Linked DNA regions of Homo sapiens: all the other regions are linked to region 4. Evidence: promoter capture Hi-C in 16 types of primary human blood cells and fetal thymus (Javierre and others, 2016). All regions are on one chromosome and are shown on one strand. The core of a region is centred on a gene start or on the middle of the fragment in contact, and the rest is flanking DNA. Distances in the headings are between cores, read along the strand shown.

Region 1 (4,091 bases), core at 75-2,574, 250 kb before region 4:
GCCAACAATACAATATTTCTAATGCGAATAATGTTCTACCTCAGATAATATTGTATAATAAAGCTTCTATAGATAAATATGCTGTTAAAAATCTGTTGCATGTTGGTGCTTATTGTTTTTATTTTAAAAACAGTAGTTTTGAGGAAAAATTCAAACAGCAGGATATAGAGTAAAAAGATTCTATACTTCCCTTCTTTCACTTCCCTATTCCTATTCTCCTGAAGTGTAACTTCTGTTAGTAGTTTCTTTTTTTGAGACCGAGTCTCACTCTGTCACCCAGGCTGGAGTGCAGTGGTGCGATCTTGGCTCACTGCAGCCGCCACCTCCTAGGTTCAGGTGATTCTCCTTCCTCAGTCTCCCGAGTAGCTGGGATTACAGGCATATGTCACCATGCCCAGCTAATTTTTGTGTTTTTAGTAGAGACGGGGTTTCACCATGTTGGCCAGGATGGTCTGGAACTCCTGACCTCAAGTGATCTGCCCGCCTCGGCCTCCCAAAGTGCTGGTATTTACAAGCGTGAGCCACCGTGCGTGGCCTCTTGTGTATTTTTCTAGCTACTTTCTTTATATACTACTTAGCACATCTTAGTTGCCTATGTAGTGTAACCCTATCCTGAGTATGACTCATAGCTTTCTTCAGAGCACTTTGAATAAGATCAGCTAGGCAGAATGAATGTTTTAAAAAAAAAATTCCAGATGCTTTTGTATGATTTCTTTTTCTTTTTTTTTGAGGTGGAGTCTCGCTCTTTCGCCCAGGCTGGAGTGCAGTGGCGCCATCTCAGCTCACTGTAACCTCCGCCTCCCGGGTTCAAGCTATTCTTCTGCCTCAGCCTCCCCAGTAGCTGGGATTACAGGTGCACGCCACCACGCCCAGCTCATTTTTTTTTTATTTTTAGCAGAGACAGGGTTTCACCATGTTGGCCCGGCTGGTCTCAAACTCTTTTTTTTTTTTTTTTGAGATGGAATTTCACTTTTGTTGCCCAGGTTGGAGTGCAATGGCACGATCTCGGCTCACTGCAACCTCCGCTTCCCGGGTTCAAGCGATTCTCCTGCCTCAGCCTCCCACATAGCTGGGATTACAGGCATGTGCCACCATGCCCAGCTAATTTTGTATTTTTAGTAGAGACGGGGTTTCTCCATGTTGGTCAGGCTGGTCTCAAACTCCTGACCTTAGGTGACCCACCCGCCTCAGCCTCCCAAAGTGCTGGGATTACAGGCGTGAACCACCGCGACCGGCCCTGGTCTCTAACTCTTGTCCTCAAATGATCTGCCTGCCTTGGCCTCCCAAAGTTCTGGGATTATAGGTGTGAGCCACCATGCCCAGCCTACGATTTCTTATACTGAAAAGTTTTTATTTATAATAAGGTGTTTTTAGGTATTGCATGGGGATCTTTCTAGTAAAATTAAGTACTGTCAAATTCTGTAAGATTTCTTTTCTCTGAAATATTGATATAATTAATTTTCAATCATTCTAAATCTTTTATTTTCACAGAAACAGATATGTTTTTTTTAGCCATCAGCATGGTAGGAACTGACTTTTCTATGATCGGACAACTTTTTCCTCACAGAGCAAGGATAGAAATTAAGGTAAAGTAAACCCATCACATTTGTTGATTGGAAAGAGACCAAACATTACAAATGTTAGTAGTATTATTCGCTTACCTTTGGTTTAAATCTTAGTTCATCTTTTTTTTTTTTTTCATTGAGACAGAGTTTCACTTTGTTGCCCAGGCTGGAGTGCAGTGGCACAGTCTCGGCTCACTGCAACCTCTGCCTCCGGGTTCAAGCAATTCTCATGCCTCAGCATGTCACATAGCTGGTATTACAGGCACCTGCCACCACGCCCGGCTGATTTTTTTACTGTTTTAGTAGAGACGGGGTTTTACCATGTTGCCCAGGCTGCTGTCGAACTCTTGAGCTCAGGTTAATCCCCCCATCTTGGCCTCCCAAAGTGTTAGAATTACAGGCTAGAGCCACCGTGCCCAGCCCTTTTTTTTTTTTTAAACTGTTATGATGGTTTTGTTACATTTATCCCTCTTTATTGAAAAGTAATATTTATCAGTTCTGATATGGGTATAATCTTCTTTATGTTAGTTTCATATTTTCTTATATCTTCTTCATTTCTAAAATGAATTTGAGGCAGTACCAATAAAAATGCACTGCAACTAAGATATAAGAAGAGTTACATAATGAAAAGAGAAGATAAATGTACCAGAGTACTTTGGTTAAGGGTAGCTTTTTTTTTTTTTTTTTTTTTTGAGATGGAGTCTCGCTCTGTTGCCCAGGCTGGAGTGCAGTGGTGCGATATCGGCTCACTGCAACCTCTGCCTCCTAAATTCAAGTGATTCTCCTGCCTCAGCCTCCCTAGTAGCTAGGATTACAGGCGCACACCACCACGCCCAGCTAATTTTTTATTTTTCGTAGAGAGGGGGTTTTACCATGTTCGTCAGCCTGGTCTTGAACTCTTGACCTCTGGTGATTCACCCACCTTGGCCTCCCACCAAGTGCTGGAATTACAGGCGTGAGCCATCATGCCCGGTTGAGGGTAGCTTTTTCAATGCAAAATGTATTTCAGAATTTCCTAGGAAAGCTTAAAGAGAAGAAATCTGAGTTTACACAGTTCTCATTTTCTGATCCGTTGCTTTCCTAGGCCCCCTTAACTTTGGGACAACCAGTGGCACTAATAACAACAGTGATGTCAGTTACAGCTATTATATGCCCAAGAGGATGAGCTTTCTCTGTTTTTTAGTTTCTTTGCTTGAGAAACTTTATACAAGTTTTCTGGGTTTAAGTGCATTTGAGTGTCATCACACTATGTTGCCATAATGCATTCTCAATTGATAGTGAGATCTTTACTCAACCATGGGCTTTTTACTTCATTTCTCATCCCTATCATGTTCATTACATTAATAAAAGGAACCATTAGGAAGGTATGTTTTTTCCACTAGAACTAAATTAGGCATGGATTGTCTGGGGACATTACATAAGGGGCATTGTACAGTGTAATGAAATAGTCTTGTTATTTCTGCAAGAGATGAGGAACTTTATATTCTTCATGTTCATTTTCTAATGTTGATCTTTGATAAAAGAACAAAATGTTAAAATTCTGTGAAGGCTAGAAATTGATTTTCTGGAATTGGAGTGCTCTGCTGATCTGTGTAATTAATTATAAATTTGTCACTGGGCTATTTGTCTCAAAAATCATGTATATTCTTTTCCTGAAAGGTTACTATGGCTCTAGCAGGTCGTTGGGTAAAGTGTAGAAAAGTGAGAGTAGGCTGGGCATGGTGGCTCACGCCTGTAATCCCAGCACTTTGGGAGGCCAAGGCAGGTGGATCACCTGAGGTCAGGAGTTCAAGACCAGCCAGGCCAACATGGTGAAACCCCGTCTCTACTAAAAATACAAAAATTAGCCGGACGTGGTGGCGCATGCCTGTAATCCCAGCTACTCGGGAGGCTGAGGAAGGAGAATCGCCTGAACCCGGGAGGTGGAGGTTGCAGTGAGCTGAGATTGTACCACTGCACTCCAGTCTGTGCAATGGGAGTGAGACTCCATCTCAAAAATGAGAATAGACTGTATTTAAAGCTACTGAATTACATTACCTTGATTTTCAAATATTGGACTAATGTATTCCTGTATAACTTCCATTTGGTCATAGTGTATTCTTTTTCTGTGTTGCTCTATTTTGCTACATTTTCTTGAGGATTTTTTTGCTACTTTGTTCATAAGGGATACTGATTTGTAATTTTCTTTTACAAAGTCTGTCCTATTTTGATATGAGGCTTATACTGGTTACAGAAATTGAGCTGAAAAGTGTTCCCTCTTCTATTTTCTGAAATAATTTGTTGAAGATCAGTATTATTCTGTCTTTAATATTTGATAGAATTTACCTGTGAAACTATATGATCCTGTAGTTTTCTTTGGAGGAAGAGTTTATTTTATAAATATACTCTTTCATTGATAATTTGTATTTTCTCTCTCTCTCTTTTTTTTTTTTTTTTTTTTTTTGGAGACAGGGTCTCACTCTGTCACCCAAGCTGGAGTGCAGTGGTGCTATCATGGCTCACCTCCTGGGCTTGAGTGATCCTCCC
Region 2 (4,060 bases), core at 327-2,826, 140 kb before region 4:
AAAATAATACAAAAAGTTCCCCTTGTATCCTTCACTTTTCCCCCATGATTATGTAAGTGTAAATAAAAATCTAAAAACAATTAAAAATTGAATTTTCCTAGAAAAGAAAGAATCCCCCAGTCTGTCTTCAGAGCGTTTACTTTAGAAAACTTGTAATTGTGAATTCCTTCTCTGCCCTTTGAAGATGTATTTACATCTTCTTTTATGAGGCTCGCTCTTTCGCCAGCCTAGAGTGCAATGGCACAATCTCGGCTCACTGCAACCTCCGACTCCCTGGTTCAAGCTATTCTCCTGTCTCAGCCTCCCAAGTAGCTGAGATTACAGGCACGGGCCACCATGCCCAGCTAATTTTTGTATTTTTAGTAGAGACGGGGTTTCACCATGTTGGCCAGGATGGTCTCAATCTCCTGAGCTCGTGATCCGCCTGCCTCCACCTCCCAAAGTGCTGGGATTACAGGTGTGAGCCACCATGCCCGGCCTACATCTTTTTTTAAATAAGCTTAATAACCCATGAGAAAGGTGTTAGTTTAAAAAAAAAAAGATAAATAAATCTCTTGTCAGTTTTTTTTTTCCCCAACCCCATAATCTTATCCTTAAGGACCTGGAAGCCTTCTCTTTGAAATGAAATCATCGAGGGAAATAGCATTCCTATTTCCTAGTCCTATGGAAGGGTAGGAACCTAACTTCAGCTGGCACCTGTTAAGTTACAAACCTACCATAAAGACATAAGAAATTTAATTTTCCTTTGGATAAAGACAATTAACAAACACAGGTGACTACTCCGATTCGCAGGTGACAGGTGGTGCTGTGAAGTCATCTTATTTGAGGACTAGTTGTTTATCTTGAAAACATGTATGACATGGGTTGCATCTGCCTGGTTATATAAAGGGGTGAGTGTTTTTTATTTTTTTGAGACAGAGTCTCACTCCGTCACCCAAGCTGGAGTGCAGTAGCGCAATCTCGGCTCACTGCAACCTCTGCCTTCCAGGGGTGAGGGTTAGGTTGTCTTTGCAATCTCTTTAGCAGATTGCCTGTAATGCACATCACATTCTGGTTTGATAGGTTTTCAAATACTAAAATTGTTTTTTTCTCTTCTACTTTAATGGAGAGGTTTTTTGTTGTGGCAGGAATTTTTGTCTTAAATTATATTTCCCCAAGAACATCTTATATAATCCTAGTACAATGATGAAAACCAGGAAATTGACATGTGCGCAATACTATTAACTAAAGATTTTATTCAAATTACAGCCAATTCTCAATATCCTCAAGGATTGGTTCCACAACTCTCCTCCTCCACCAAAACCCCAGGATGCTCAAGTCCTTTATATAAAATGGTATGAGCATATGTCTTATGCACGTCCTCCCATGTACTTTAAATTTTCTCTGGATTATTTCTAATAACTAATACAAATGCGAATGCTATGCAAATAGTCATTATACTGCATTTTAAATTTGTATTTTTTTATTGTATTGTTGCGTGGTTTTTTTTTTTTTAAGACAGGGTCTCAACTATTGCCCAGGCTGCAGTACAGTGGTGAGATCGTAGCTCACTATGGCCTCGACCTCCCATGGCTTAGGTGATCCTCCTGCCTCAGCCCCCGAGTAGCTAGAATTACAGGCTCCACCACTCCCAGCTAATTTTTGTATTTTTAATAGAGATGGGTTTTTCGCCATGTTGCCCAGGCTGGTCTCAGACTCCTAGGCTCAAGTGATCCGCCCACCTTGGCCTTCCAAAGTGCTGGGATTATAGGTGTGAGCCACTGCGCCTGGCCTGTATTGTTATTTTTTTATTGTCTCTTCCCACCCAATATTTTCCATCTGTGGTTGGTTGAATTTGCCGATGTGAGATCTGGGGATACAGAAAGCTGGCTACATATCATGCTTACAGGCAGTGCATGTGTATATACAATTCCATGAAATTTTATCCCATGTATAGGTTTATGTAACATCACCACAGTCAGGGTACAGAGCTGTTCCATCACCCCGAAAGTCACTCTCATGCTGTCAATTATAGTCATTCCCTCCTCCAGCTCTAACCCTTGACAACCACTTATCTGTTCTCCACTACAACTTTTTTTTTTTTTTTTTGGTCACCTAGGCTGGAGTGCACAGCTCATGGCAGCCTTGACCTCCCATGCTCAAGCAATCCTCCCATCTCAGCCTCCCAAGCAGCTGGGACCACAGGTGCATGCCACCACGCTCAGCTGTTTTTTTGAAAAAAGTTTCTGTAGAGACTGGGTTTTGCTATGTTGCCCAGGTTAGTCTCCAACTCCTGGGCTCAGGCGATCCCCCACCCCTGCCTTGGCCTCCCAGAGCGCTGAGATTACAGGCATGAGCCACCATGCTGGGCCCACAACTTTTCATTTCATTAAAATGGGATCATACAGTATGTAACTGTGCAATAAAGGGTTAATTCAGCAGGTTTGGGTTGTACACATTCCAAAGAAGGAACTGACACTTGACCAGTTCCTTAACCTATAAGCCCTTGAAATAAATGTCCTGCCTTTTAAGAGTTTTTGTATACCTGGGGCCTTCAGCCATGACAGATAGTTTATGCTAATTTTATGCTGATTTAAAACTGTATCCTTTCACTGTAATAAGCCATAACTGAACATAGCTTTTCTGAGTTCTGTGAGTCTTTCTAGTTAATCATTAAGCTTAAAAGTGGTCTTGGATAACCTTTAGAGATTGTGCTTTACATAAAATCTAACTTTTTTTGTTTTTGTTTTTGTTTTTTAAGAGTTGGGGCCTCGTTCTGTTGCCCAGGCTGGAGTGCAGTGGTGCAATCATAGCTCACTGCAGCCTTGACTTCCTAGGCTCAAGTGATCCTCCCACCTTGGCTTCCGAAGTAGCTGGAACTACAGGTACGCGCCACTATACCAGGCTAATTTTTTAAGAGTGGGGCCTTGCTGTGTTGCCCAGGCTGGTCTTGAACTCCTGGGCTGAAGGGCCTCAGCCTCCCAAGTAGCTGGGATTGTAGGTGTGAGCTACCGTGCCCTACATCATTTTTATTGCAGGCAGTATTGTGTCATATGGATTTACCATAATTTGCTTATTCATTCATCTGTTAATGGACATTTGGGTTGTTTAGAGATTTTGTGTATTACAAATAAAGCTGTTATAAATATTTTTGTTCAAGTTTTTGTATGCACACGTAATTTTATTTACCTTGAGTAGATTCTTATAATAGTGAAAAGTAAAAAAGCCTTTATCACAGCTTGGAGTCTATTATCTTCTGTAGATGCAGGGCAGTTTGGCCGAGAATCAAGCCAGGATTTGACAAGAAGGGAGTTGAAGGGTCAATGAAAGGTACAGTATGATATAAGGACACTACACAGGAAGGAATGGAAAGCTGAGAAATAGGATGGACACATTTGGGCAGATGTGGTCAAGACCCAGACTCTCAAATGCCCAAATCCCCTTGAGCTTTTCTCAGAGTGGAGGCAACCTACCCTCATATCCACTCCCCATTCCTGACCAGCCTTTCCCTGTGTAAAAGGCACTTAGTCGCTTCATCTGGGGCAGTTGCCTTATGAGCTGATGCTAGTTCTTGTAAGGGACTGATCCTACCCTGCCTCCTTGCCTCTGGATCTTAACAGAAGTTAGTTATTCCAGTGCAAACCAAAAAGTACTGAACGTGGCCCAGAAAGAGATAGTTTCTTGCCAGTGTGTATTGGCAAGAGTTAGGGAATATGGAAATGGATTGTTACGCCAAGGAAAACAAATATAAGGTTGGATTGGGATAAATGTATAAACATGAGTGCATGTGCTGGCATGTCAGTCATGTTTTCCAAAGATAGTCACACAATGTCTCTCATCTTTTCTGCCAGTGGCCTTGACACTCCTTCCATTGAGTGGTGGGGTCTATGTCCCCTCCCCTTGAATCCAATAGAGTACAACCAAAGTAATACCATGTGATATCCCAGGTAAGGTCATTAAGTTTCTACAGAAGAGACTTGATAGCAAAGGAGAGCCTGCCAGGTCTAACTGCTCATCCTGACCTCCCAGCTTCTTGCCTGGCCTTTAAATAACCCTCCCTTAGGTGTCCTGGAATGTCTCC
Region 3 (4,058 bases), core at 794-3,293, 210 kb before region 4:
GGAGGTTGAGGCTGCAGTGAGCTGTGATTGTGCCATTGTACTCCACCCTGGGTGACAGAGTGAGACCCTGTCTCAAAAAGAAATAAAAATAATTTCCAACTGTGAAAAAGTCACTGTTATTATTATTATTTTTTTTCTTTAAGTCAGATGGGCAAGGATCAAACTTTTCTTTTGGCTTAGGTTTGAGATCTCAAAAATGTCACTGTTCTTAATATCATTTGAAGTTACTCTTTTAGGTAAAAGAAGAATAGGAAATTAGACTGAATTTGTACTAACCCTAGCGTGAACACACATTATTTCTTTTGGCCACATCTGTATCTGCTTTTGTTTCTTGCCCCACCTGACTTACTTCACTTCTAAAAGTTCTTTTTGTTTTTTCAAGTTACTTTGAAGTTCATGATCTTCTAACATTTTCAAGGACTTTTTTTTTTTTCTAACTTTTAAAAATAGATAATGACATTTGTGGTTTGGGAAAGTAATAATATGCAACATAAAAGGGTTTCCTGAATTCCAAGTTTTAACATTTGGAAATTAAATTTTATTCAAAAATTAAAAACTTCTAAAGTTTTAAAGGAAAGTGTTTAGAATTTAGTAGACTTTTGTTTTAAATATATAAGATGTTTAAATACTCTTTTATTTGTGCTGATTTACTATGACTGTTCCTCTAGAACATTAGCAGTGAAGTACTGTCGATGATGCATACACCTGTAGAAGAAAAAAGAAATTCTGAAAAAGAAGTATCAAGTCACTTCAGTCATTTCAAGATTTCTTCACAGACTCATGAATCTGATAAAACAGAAGTCCAGGGGATTCAATCTCCAGATGTTCCAGAGCAGTTTTCAGATATTAATTTAAGGTACAAGTGTGTTTTTAAAGAAAAAGATATTAAGTTATAGTTGCAGATTACGTTAAACTAAGTGAGGTTTCAAGATATAACATATACAGGATAGTGTTAGAGCTTTTAAGATAGTTTTGGGAAGACTGGGAGAGAGGATTGAGGTCACTCTGACAGTCAATTGTGAAAGTTACTGACATACAAAATTGTATGTAACAGTCTTAAATCAATACAGGTTTGATAGACTCATATTTTCTTTGTGCAGAGATGGTGTAATTCCTAGGCTCATACCTGGATTGTACCACTCATGGTTTTCAGGATCTGCCAGATAGTTCGATTTGTTTTCCTGTTAAGAATTAGAATTAGGCCAAGTATGGTGGCTCACACCTGTAATCCTAGCAATTTGGGAGGCTGAGGTGGGTGGATCCTTTGAGCCTAGGAGTTTGAGACCAGCCTGGGCAACACGCTGTAGAAACCCCATCTCTATAAAATAAAAAAACAAAAACTAGCTGGGTGTGGTGGCACATGCCTGTAGTCCCAGCTACTTGGGAGGCTCAGATGGGAAGATCACTTGAGCCCGCGGAGGTCAAGGCTGCAGTGAGCTATGATTGTGTCATTGCACTCCAGCCTGGGGGATAGAACAAGACCCTGTCTCCAAAAAAAAAAAAAAAAAAAAAAAAATTAAATGTTTACCGCCAGTCTCTAAGGTTGTACTGAGACTCCGTTTCCACTGCCCCTTCAGTTCATTCTAAAGCTTGATAATCCTTGTTCCAAAAGCAAATCTCTTCCTCAAGAACAGAAGCCACTTGAAATTAAACCAGCACCTTTTGTGAGGAGCCGATTCAAAAGACCAAAACCAAACTTAGCAAGAGCAGCTTTGAAGAGAGAGACTACAGAATCAGAAAAATATATATATGAGAAGAAATCAGAAACCAAGAAAATGGAGACTATTGTGATGCAAGAAAATAATGAACAAACTGATACTCTCCCTTCTCAACATGTGAGTGTATTTGAGATGGAAGTTCTGTGTGGGTGTTTTTTTTTTTTTTTAAGTTATTAGGACTACTAAAAGCACCTGGCATTAAAATTCTACAAATATTTCTGTGTAATTTTTGCTGCATGTGATATTGCTCCCATGCTTAATGTGCCTCATTGTTCCACATAATTTGTGTAAGAATCTCAGATATCTGATAATGGGCAAACGTGTTGTGGGAAAGCGTTCAGGTCTGGGCTCTGGTTCCAGTTCCAGCTATGTGACCATTGATTAAACAATTTTCTTCATAGAAAAAATGACAATAATAGTTTTTTATTTTTTTTATTTTTATTTTTTTGAGATGAAGTCTCACTCTGTTCCCAGGCTGGAGTGCAGTGGCGCGATCTCGGCTCACTGCAACTTCCACCTCCCAGGTTCAAGCGATTCTCCTGCCTCAGCCTCCTGAATGCTGGGACTACAGGCGCGTGCTGCCATGTCCGGCTAATTTTTTTTTTTGTATTTTTAGTAGAGATGGGGTTTCACTATGTTAGCCAGGCTGATCTCGAACTCCTAACCTCGTGATCTGCCTGCTTTGGCCTCCCAAAGTGCTGGGATTACGCTGAGCCGTGGCGCCCAGCGAGAATAATCGTTTTTTATTTCACTCTCTTGTGAAGGTGAAATGAAGAGTTAAAAGCTTGATTTGAGTTAAAGGTGATATTTTATTTACTTTATTAACTTGGTCCATAACAGATTAAGATTGTGTGACATACCATCAAAAAAACATTGAAACGAAATGAATAATTATAAACTGAATGTTTTCCACATTCAGTGGAAGTCCTTCTTAGAATTAAAATTCTTATTTGATGTCTTAAAATAGCTCAGTACTTTACTGTGCATCAACATTTGTACTATTTCTCCTAAGCTTATATTCATAAAAGATAAGTTACATTTGTATTATACTTTCTGATTATAGAAATTTTAATTTGGAAAAATATATGTATTCTAAAAAGTGAGAGTCTTTTATAATGTCACGTCCCTTTCCCCCAAGTTAATCATACAGCAATTTTGAATATATCCACTTACACTTTTTCGTCTTACAGTTATAAAATGATAAAATGGGAAGGTATTTTTATTGTTTTCCAAAATGACATTAATTCTTGCTTTCTGATTTTTCCACTTACAGTATTGTGAGCTTCTTTTTAGATCAGTACAAAGAGATATATCTTCTTTTAAATGATTAGGTACTATTGCATTGTAAAGAAATTAAAATTTATTTATTCCATCCCCTAATGATATATCTGTTTTATTTCTGATTTTTTTGTTTGTCTTTTCCGGTGAGGGAGGTGGTGCTTAAATTGTTACAATAAATATTTTTGTGTGTATATTTCTACTTGTTGAGTATTTATAAGATACATTTCTAGAAGTGGAATTGCTGGGAATTTAGAATTTTGGTATAGACTACCCTATTATTCTTCACGAAGATGATATCAGTTTATACTTGTAAAGTTCTTATTTCCTTATACTTTTAGCAACTGTGAATGAAATTTTTTTTCTGTCTTCTAGGATGAAGCTTCCCTAATGATATCAAGAGAAAAAGACACATTAGGTCACAGGAATGAGGAGGCTGTGATATTGCCATGTACACAGACTGAAAGGAACCTTTCACCTTCAAATTCTTGTGAACCTAAAGAGGAGTCTCAGTCAGCACCAGTCCAGAAAAATGACTCAGTTGTTTCTGTGGGGTAAACAGTGATTTTCTTTGACAATATAAAATAAGAGAGATACTTCTTTTAAATATTTCTAATTTTTATTGAGATATGTTAATGCATTTAAAAAGTGAACATAAAGAATATTGGTTTAATTTTATTGATACAGCAGACTGCCTAAAATATAATATCAGATTGAATTCAACACCTTCTAATGGTTGCCTGCTTATCTGCATTGTCAGCTGCGTAAGAGTGTATACAAAGCAATGCATTTAAAAACTACAAGTTGAGCATCCCTAATAAAAAATTCTGAAATGTGCCACAATTTAAAACTTTTTGAGAGCTGACATGATGCTCAAGAAATGCTCAGTGGAGCATTTTGGATTTTCAAAGTAGGGATGCTCAACTGATAAGTATAATGCAAATATTTCCAAATCTAAAAAAATCTGAAATCTGAAACATTTCTGGTCCTAAGCATTTTGGATAGGGCTACTCAGCTTATATGTATATAAGCTATATATATTCATTAACTTTTAAAAATTAG
Region 4 (4,368 bases), core at 974-3,473:
AAAATGATAGCACCAACTCAAGTTCAGCAAGATTTAAACTTTGGATTTTTTTCCAATAGAAGTAGCACAAAGGGAAAGTTATTACTTGTGTCTGGGTAGAACAAAATTGGAGAGAAAGTATTGCATTGACAATATCTACATCCTTCAGGAAGAATAGGCTAAAATCTTATTTGAGATTATTTTTCTTCTGAAGCTTAGAATAGTTTAAAGATCACTGGAGATGGTTTTTGCAGTGAGTGTCAATATGTCTCTGTAAGGTTTTAACAGTAAAACGTGCTGCCACTGAAGTTTTCTTGTGCAGAATCAAAAGGTATGTGTGGAAGGCAGAGCTGAGGGAGGTGTTAGATACATTTTCAAGTTGGGTTTACCCCACAGCAAAATATTTTGATGCTGTTAATATGTGTGCTATTCATTAGAAGAGATATCACTTCTTGAATTGCTTCCCAGTGAGTATTTGAGTACCAATTAAATACTTGATAGTTGAAGTAACCAGGCATATATTGTGTATTAAACTATCTTAATGACCCACATAATCTGCTATGCAATAAATTTGTGGGAGAAAAGTATTGATAGATGGTTTGGATTGAGTAGTCATAGATATTTACACTGAGATTTAAATAACAGAAGTAGTGAGCCTTTTGGAAATACAGGAAGACCTTTCAAGGAGGGGTAAGTGCAAAGACATCAAAGTATGAATGAGATTGGCCTGCTAGAGGACCAGAAAGAAGGCCATGTGAGGTTGGAGTGGAGGAGTCTGGGGCAGAGTGGTAGAACATGAGGTGGAGAGGGGTGAAGATCATATAATGCTTTGCAAGTCAGGATGAGGAATCTAGATTCAGTGCTTAGTAAGATTAGGAGTCATTAGTGTATTTTAAGGGGAAAAATACTCTGGTTGGTGGTGAACTATGGAGTAGAGGAAGGCAAGAGAAGATAGGGTGGGGATTAAGTGGTAGACATTAAGTTGACTGGGGCAGCTGTCTAGGACTGGGTTGTAGTAATGGGGATGGAGAAGAGTGGATGAATTTAGGAACAGTTGAGGGAAAGATGGTGTGGTGAAGGAAGCCAGGTGAGCAAGCAGGTCTAAGCGGGAAAGCATTGCTTTTCCTACAGGAATTTTCCTGTGCATTCAGGCTGTAAGGATCTCAACTTTTAAAAAAGCCACATTGTTCTCCCAAGTTGTTGGGGAGCTGGTTCACCATTGACTTCTGATCTCTGGAGATATTTTCATAATCATGGAGCTGTCTTTCTTTTCACTCTTTTACTCTCTTTCTAGACAGGCTTCTTGGATACCAAGGGTTGGTGGTGGGTGGGGGGAGGTTCTGGGGATGGTTAAATTTGCCTGGGCAGCCTCAAAGTTCAAAAAGGAGGGACAGGGAAGCTTAGCTAAGAACCAGGAGTTTGACATACTTAATCTCTCATTTCATCCTACTGATGACTTTGTGAGGTATATCTTTTTAATCCTAGATCTACAAAAGAGAAAGCTGAGGCTTGGAGAGGTTCTTCATTTTGTTCAAAGTCATACAACTTTTACGTGGTGTAGCCAGGATGGGAACCAGAGCCTGGCTCTCTGCACTTCCAACACCACTGCTGAATCCGGGTTTGTCTGTTTTCCCTCTCTTCTTTTAACTATTGTCACACAGATTCCATCATAGAACCCATCACGTGGAGGGCCACTATTTCTCTTTCTTTTGTATAGTATGTTTGCTTCCCCTACCCCACAGAGTAAGGTGCTCAGCAAATGTGGCTGTCTGGAGGCAACACCCCCTTCTCACCGCCACACTTGGGGTTGGGGTGCGAGGCAAGGCAGGGCTGGCGAGGTGGATGTTGCAGCTGTCACCACTGCTAGGTGTTGGGAAACGACTCTCCTGCCTGTGCATTGACCCGAAGGCATTTTCCATTTCCTAGGCCCCTCCCGCTTCCCGTCCCTCACCTCTAGCCCCTCGGCTTCAGCTCAGGCCCCTCGGGGAGCATCCCTTGCCGTGAGACTGACAGCCTTTGGGGGCGCAGGGTCCTGTTCTCTGCGCTCTAGCCCATCTGTGCGCAGAGCCTCGTTCCCAGGCGCCTGGAACCCGGCGGGCATTGACGTCAAGCGCCGGCGGAGCGCTGCCTACAGACGGTTGACCCGGGCCCTCCTCCACACCCCCTTCCTTCTTCGCCTCCTCCCTCTTTCCTGCACGGGGGCTCGGGCTCACTATAAAAGGTGGGAGCGCGTGGTGCCCCAGCAACGACGAGTTTCAGAACGATGGAGAGCTCCCGCGTGAGGCTGCTGCCCCTCCTGGGCGCCGCCCTGCTGCTGATGCTACCTCTGTTGGGTACCCGTGCCCAGGAGGACGCCGAGCTCCAGCCCCGAGCCCTGGACATCTACTCTGCCGTGGATGATGCCTCCCACGAGAAGGAGCTGGTCGGTATTCCCCTCGCTCTCGACCCCCTTGAGCTGTCGCCTTGTCTCTTCTCTTGCACGCCTCCCTCCTCCCCCCACCCCCACTCCTATTCCCAGAGTCAGGGCGCGGGGAGCTGAGCGCAACGCCCAGGCACCCACTGCCATCCGAAGAGCGTCTCGAGCTCACGGGCTCCTGGCAGTCTGTTGAGCGAATCCCTCATCCCGGCCCCTCTGAGCAACAGGGACCCCAGCGGCTCAGAGACCCGCGGTCAGTACCTGGGACAGCGTCCGCTAAGTTTCCACCCCTCGACCATTCCCTGTGTCCGCGGAGTCCCACCGCAGAGTGCGTGTGGGTCCGGGGCTCCTTATAACTAGGGCTGGAAGTGCGCACCTGGGCTGGGCTCGCAGCCAAGGCGGCAACTTCAGGCTCCGAAGCGGTGTGTTGCAGATCGAAGCGCTGCAAGAAGTCTTGAAGAAGCTCAAGAGTAAACGTGTTCCCATCTATGAGAAGAAGTATGGCCAAGTCCCCATGGTAAGGTTTGTGGTCACTCCCTTCCCGTGTTTTTCCAAGAGAAAGTACACCGCCTTGAATCGTACACACAGTCTTCTCCGTAGGATGTGGCTAAATAACTTAGGTAATGGGCTTGCAGGATTCTGTGGGCTCCTTCTTCCTTCCCGGGTGAGGAAATGGGAAAGCAGGAACAGGGGTTGTAAGAAAGTGTAAGTCTATTGTTTGTTGCTCAGGAAAAAGGTCTGATTTTTTTCCCCTCTGAGAGGGCAAGAAAAGGAGCCAGGAAATGTGATGCTCCCCTTCCCACGCCCCCCAACCCTCGCCACTTAAAGGTGGAAGAAACTAGGATAAAACTAATAATGTAAGTTTCTTTAAAAAATGTACTCTCACTGAGGTTATAAGCACAAGGCTCCCTGTTTCAGATCTGACTGTACGTAGACCTCTTGTGATGGTGATGGGGTCCAATTGCCCCTTTCAAGAGACAGAAATTGCGTTGACTGTGAGACTTGCCTGTTGGGAACCTGGGTTTGTTCATACTCGATGACCACACATTTTGTTGTTTCAGTGTGACGCCGGTGAGCAGTGTGCAGTGAGGAAAGGGGCAAGGATCGGGAAGCTGTGTGACTGTCCCCGAGGAACCTCCTGCAATTCCTTCCTCCTGAAGTGCTTATGAAGGGGCGTCCATTCTCCTCCATACATCCCCATCCCTCTACTTTCCCCAGAGGACCACACCTTCCTCCCTGGAGTTTGGCTTAAGCAACAGATAAAGTTTTTATTTTCCTCTGAAGGGAAAGGGCTCTTTTCCTGCTGTTTCAAAAATAAAAGAACACATTAGATGTTACTGTGTGAAGAATAATGCCTTGTATGGTGTTGATACGTGTGTGAAGTATTCTTATTTTATTTGTCTGACAAACTCTTGTGTACCTTTGTGTAAAGAAGGGAAGCTTTGTTTGAAAATTGTATTTTTGTATGTGGCATGGCAGAATGAAAATTAGATCTAGCTAATCTCGGTAGATGTCATTACAACCTGGAAAATAAATCACCCTAAGTGACACAAATTGAAGCATGTACAAATTATACATAATAAAGTGTTTTTAATAATTGCCCATAGTGCACTGCTGTTTTCATATAAGTAATTTAAGTGGAAATGGTGAGATTAATCATGCTGTTGTTTTCAAAGAAAAATATTTTAAAAATAGCAGCCTATTGGGAAAATGGCACCTTAGCTCCAAGGAGTTTTGATCGTTAATTAGAAGTTTGCCAAGCCAGTTTTAGTATACTCTATTTTTCTTTGATTGCAGCGATGTGGTGTGTGTATGTGTGTGTGTATGTGTGTGTGTGTGTGTGTGTGAGAGAGAGAGAGAGAAAGAGAGAGATGAATGAGATGGAGATGGTTGGAGTTGAGGTTATATAATTTTGTTTATTAAAACCTTTAGCCAGACCCTTTACTTTAAACAGTGAGACCAATAAACTATAA
Region 5 (4,340 bases), core at 1,841-4,340, 180 kb before region 4:
AAAAAACCAAAAAACCAAAAAAAAAAAAAAAAAAAAAAAGAACCAGAACCAAACCATGGGAATAAAAGTAACTTAAAAATTTCAAGACATCAGATACAGGACTGTGACTCCATATTGCCAGTTAATATAGTGGAATGTTAAGATGATACCCAAGACAGTCAAAGCCTCCCATAATTCAATATCGCACACTGTTTTCTGGTTGTACCAAAAAATAAACAACTGGAAAATGATTTTTACCCTTAAAAGCATGTACACTTAAAAAATGGGATGAGGTGGGATTTCCTTCTTCTTAAAAATGTTTCTAGAGTTACTAAAAAACTTGCATTTGTGAAATAGTTGAGAAAAATATTCCTCTGGAATGTACAAGAAGGGAGACAGGTACTATTGGTAAGACATAGTATATGATATTAATCAGACTTGGCTTTTTTTCTCTCTGGGCTTCATCAGAGGCTGGACTTTCCTTGGTTTTTGTTTCTCTGTTTTCTGTAGGTAAATCTGATTTCTTGGTTAGCCACTTTGGTTTGTTTTCCCTTTGTTCCCCGTTTTTCTCTTGTTTGCACTTTTTTTGTCTGGAGATTTATCCTTTCCTGCTGCCTTTTTTGGCTTTGTTTCCACTTTTGCAGGAGCAGGTTTAGCTGACAGTCATACTAATCTCATCTTGGGCTCTTTCCTTCACCGCCCTTCTGCTGAGCTGATCTTCCTCTTGGGCATCTTGTGGTCAGGAGTGTGCATGCTGGGTGCCTGTGAGCCGCACCATGCTGAGAGCCTTCTCAAAGCTGGGCTGCCTGGCTGCTACCACTCCTCCCATCCTGTCTTATCATTAAGTATGATGTTACCATGGATTTTTCATAAACGTCCTTTACCAGGCTAAAGAAGTTACTTTCTATTCCTAGTTTGTTGAATGTTTCTTTCATTAAAGGGTGTTGGAATTTGTCATATGCTTTTTCTGCATTTATGGAGATGATCATGTGAATTTTGTTTTTCATTGTATTTTTTGGACGTTAAACCAACCTTGCTTCCCCAGGATAAATTCTAGGATCATAATGTCTAATTTTTATTCATTGTTGGATTCAGCTTGCTAGTATTTTATTGGTGATTTTTATGTCCATATTCATAATAGATATTGGTCTGTACTTTTCTTGTGATGTCAGGAGATGAAGTCCTACTCCCCTAGGGAAAAATGCTCTCCAGGTGGGACCTTGGGGACTGGGGGCCTTGTATTTTTGGGTGCAGCAGTTTGAGGTGGAGTCTCTGCCATGCTGAGCTGGGAGGAAGGAGAGAGAAAGAGCAGTGTTAGTTCACATAGACTCTCACCTTTGTTAGCAAATTTTCAGATTTTCTTGAACAGATATTTCTTCATTTGCTTTTTGTCGTTAGGATCAGTTTCAGAGGCTTTTAAATGTTTTGTTTTTAAAATCAGTTTCACTGAGGAGTGGGTCAGTGAAGCTTCTCAAGCTGTCGCTCTGGACATTGGTTCTGTAACTTCTTAATTTATTAAAATGCATTTAAGTTTTAAGCTACGTAGTAGTATAAAAATTTTGCAATACCCTTTAGGCCTTGGTTTCCATTGGGTAAAAATTGGCAGCAGATATGACTAGAGTTGAAGGATTATGAAAATGAAGAAGTAAAGTAAGAATGGTAGACGTACATAACAAAATGATAAGAGTTAAAATTTGCACATAATACAAGAAAAAGATAAAGTCAGGAGCAAGAGACACAAGAATTTTGCCTTTAAATTGTTTATGTTCTTGCTGGTGAAATTTTGTGAATAATTATAAATTAAGACAAACCAGTTTACACTATTGTAGCTAAAAGTATGGAAAGACCTCTGAAAATGTAGTGCATGCTGAGAAACAGAACATGTTTGGGGAAGTATTTTAAGATGTTACTTATTTTTTTCCTTTTTAGGAAATGACCACAAGTGAACATATCCAAGATGAACCAGGTAACTGTTATCAAGGAAACTGCTAAGACTACCTTGATTAACACTAGTACAGTGATTTAATAGTGGGGATAATAAATGAATCAGTTTGCTGGAGAGTTTAACAAAAAGATTCAGCTATTGAATGTGTTGTCTCTGTGAGAAATGTGGATTCTTGGAATGTTATTTTAGAAGGTGAATTAAAAAAATGTTTAAGAAGTATTTGAGCATTTCCTCTGGATCTTCACAAATGGGAGAGCATTTTCCTTGAAGATATTATTTAATGGGAGGGAGGCATGGTCAGTGAGTCAAAACCAACAGTGATGATTTATTTATTTGTAGCATATAACCTGAACAAAAGACTACCTTAGTAAGGGATTAATGGCTCAGAGGATATTGGAATCTGCTCCTAGGAGATAAACACCTTAATTAAAAATCTTTTTTAAGTGAACAGATTTCCGGATTCATTCTTTTTTTTAATGTTGATATATTTCCTCACAAGGTACCAATGATGGAAGCACCGAAGCTGCAATAACTTTACTTACAATGGGAGATCTAGTATTGCAGTCAGAGATCAGTAGTGAACAGGGTGATGGTAAGAATGAAAGCTAAGTCCTATCAAAAATAGAAACTTTTAAAACCTAACTTAAGAAATTATACCCACATTTGAGTAATAACCCTTTTACCTTTGAAGTTGTCTCCATTTTGTTGTTCTTCCATAAAATATGATATGTATGTATTGATCCATCCACTATTTTACTACTGTTTAGGTGTAGTGACAGCTAATTCAAGATCATGCTCTTGGTTTATTAAGAATAATTTGTATTCATGGAATAGTTGTATGCATGGAATAGTTGTATGCATGGTAAAGGTAGTGAATACTACCTTTACCATCATAAATGTCATTGGTTAACTGAGCTCATTGATCACTGATATAGTTTATACATGTGTCTTTTGCAAAGGAGTTGCTGCTTGGGATGGTATTCACAATTAGATGACAAATAGAGCACAAAGAGACAATAGCACTCATTGAAATAATTTAGTTTAAACTGTTCTCAGTTTGGACAGAGCCAAAAGATATATCAACCAAGATTTTTAACTTATTAGATGGAAATCACAGACAAGTGATAAATCTTTACTATCTCAATATCTTTTAATTGCATGAAATGAATAATTATACTATTCCTGGTAATTATTTTGCCTGGTTACCATTCATTTTATTTACTTATTTATTTATTTGAGACGGAGTTTGGTTATGAGTAGCCTACCATTCATCTTATTTATTTATTTGAAGCAGAGTTTCGCTCTTGTCACCCAGGCTGGAGTGCAATGGTGCGATCTTGGCTCACTGCAACCTCTGCCTCCCAGGCTCAAGCAATTCTCCTGCCTTAGCCTCTCAAGTAGTTGGGATTACAATCGCATGCCACCATGCCCAGCTAATTTTTGTATTTTTAGTAGAGTTGGGGTTTCACCATCTTGGCCAGGCTGGTCTCGAACTGCTGACCTCAGGTGATCCACCCGTCTTGGCCTCCCAAAGTGCTGGGATTACAGGCATGAGCCACCGCACCCAGCTTCCATTCATTTTAAGTATTAGACTTTTGGGCCAGATGCAGCAGCTCATGCCAATAATACCAGCACTTTGGGAGGCTGAGGCTGGTGAATGCTTGACTTCAGGAGTTCAAGACCAGCCTGGGCAACATGGTGGAACCCCGTCTCTACAAAAAATACAAAAAATTAGGCAGGCATGGTGGTGTACACTTGTAGTCCTAGCTGCTTGGGAAGCTGAGGTGGGAGGATCGCTTGAGCTCAGGAGGTCAAGGCTGCAGTGAGCTGAGATCGCACCACTGCACTCCAGCCTGGGTGACAAAGTGAGACACTGTCTCAAAAATAGATAAATAAAGACATATTAGACTTTTAGGCTTGGAACCATGTATTTATCAGGAAAGTCTCTGATTTGTGTTCTGTATAGGGCTCCTTTCTTAGTGGCAGAGTATTGCAGTACAGCCTGTCAAAAACATATAGAACATAAAGTACATATAGAACATAAAGGTTTTAAAAATCTTAAATGCTGACAGTGCTGTCTTGAAATCCATCTGAGATTATATAATTACTGAAAGTAACAAAAGAACTCATTTTTACTAATAATCGGATAAAATTCCAGTCTGTAAGGATTATTAAGCTCACAACAGGTCAAATCCCTGGCATGAAATAGGGAGATCATAAATTTACAGCCAACAAGGGCAAAATTTATTTATTTCTAAAATCTTTTTCTATTGCTGCCACACAAATGAAGCAAACTTTAATAATACAGAATTTTACAATTACTAAATGTTGAGGAATTTATTTTGAGCATCTATAATTTGGTCCATTTTAATTTTGTTTTTTTTTTTTTTCTTCAGTAGGAGTATGTATAATTCCT

The links. Contacts are between HindIII fragments. The CHiCAGO score rates a contact against its expected background, and 5 or more counts as called.
Region 1: a contact is called between a fragment that was not itself captured here and the fragment with the promoter of CARTPT in region 4, in 1 of 17 cell types (endothelial precursors). The highest score is 7.4, in endothelial precursors.
Region 2: a contact is called between a fragment that was not itself captured here and the fragment with the promoter of CARTPT in region 4, in 1 of 17 cell types (endothelial precursors). The highest score is 8.5, in endothelial precursors.
Region 3: a fragment that was not itself captured here is called in contact with the fragment with the promoter of CARTPT in region 4 in 1 of 17 cell types (endothelial precursors); the score reaches 5.2 in endothelial precursors.
Region 5: a contact is called between a fragment that was not itself captured here and the fragment with the promoter of CARTPT in region 4, in 1 of 17 cell types (endothelial precursors). The highest score is 5.9, in endothelial precursors.

Annotation. Positions count from the first base shown.
Region 1 is chr5:71,468,904-71,472,994 of GRCh38, forward strand. It overlaps BDP1 (BDP1 general transcription factor IIIB subunit), which reads left to right. Exons shown (of 39, transcript NM_018429.3): 7 at 1,492-1,586. Among named protein-coding and RNA genes, the nearest start is that of BDP1, 15 kb to the left of the region's middle. The HindIII fragment of the contact is 2,526 bases long and covers 62-2,587 here.
Region 2 is chr5:71,579,710-71,583,769 of GRCh38, forward strand. LOC124900999 (a long non-coding RNA gene) reads left to right here and starts at 430. Exons shown (of 4, transcript XR_007058810.1): 1 at 430-890; 2 at 1,249-1,334; 3 at 2,741-2,864; 4 at 3,242-4,060. The HindIII fragment of the contact is 2,158 bases long and covers 498-2,655 here.
Region 3 is chr5:71,511,573-71,515,630 of GRCh38, forward strand. BDP1 (BDP1 general transcription factor IIIB subunit) reads left to right here. Exons shown (of 39, transcript NM_018429.3): 18 at 669-856; 19 at 1,613-1,835; 20 at 3,372-3,550. Among named protein-coding and RNA genes, the nearest start is that of BDP1, 58 kb to the left of the region's middle. The HindIII fragment of the contact is 913 bases long and covers 1,588-2,500 here.
Region 4 is chr5:71,717,052-71,721,419 of GRCh38, forward strand. CARTPT (CART prepropeptide) reads left to right here and starts at 2,224. Exons shown (of 3, transcript NM_004291.4): 1 at 2,224-2,401; 2 at 2,829-2,912; 3 at 3,457-3,994. The coding sequence starts at 2,243. The coding sequence ends at 3,564. RefSeq lists an enhancer at 2,362-3,248. The HindIII fragment of the contact is 2,457 bases long and covers 1,377-3,833 here.
Region 5 is chr5:71,537,134-71,541,473 of GRCh38, forward strand. BDP1 (BDP1 general transcription factor IIIB subunit) reads left to right here. Exons shown (of 39, transcript NM_018429.3): 27 at 1,909-1,945; 28 at 2,424-2,516; 29 at 4,321-4,340. It also overlaps the pseudogene HMGN1P12. Among named protein-coding and RNA genes, the nearest start is that of MCCC2, 48 kb to the right of the region's middle. The HindIII fragment of the contact is 3,292 bases long and covers 1,445-4,340 here.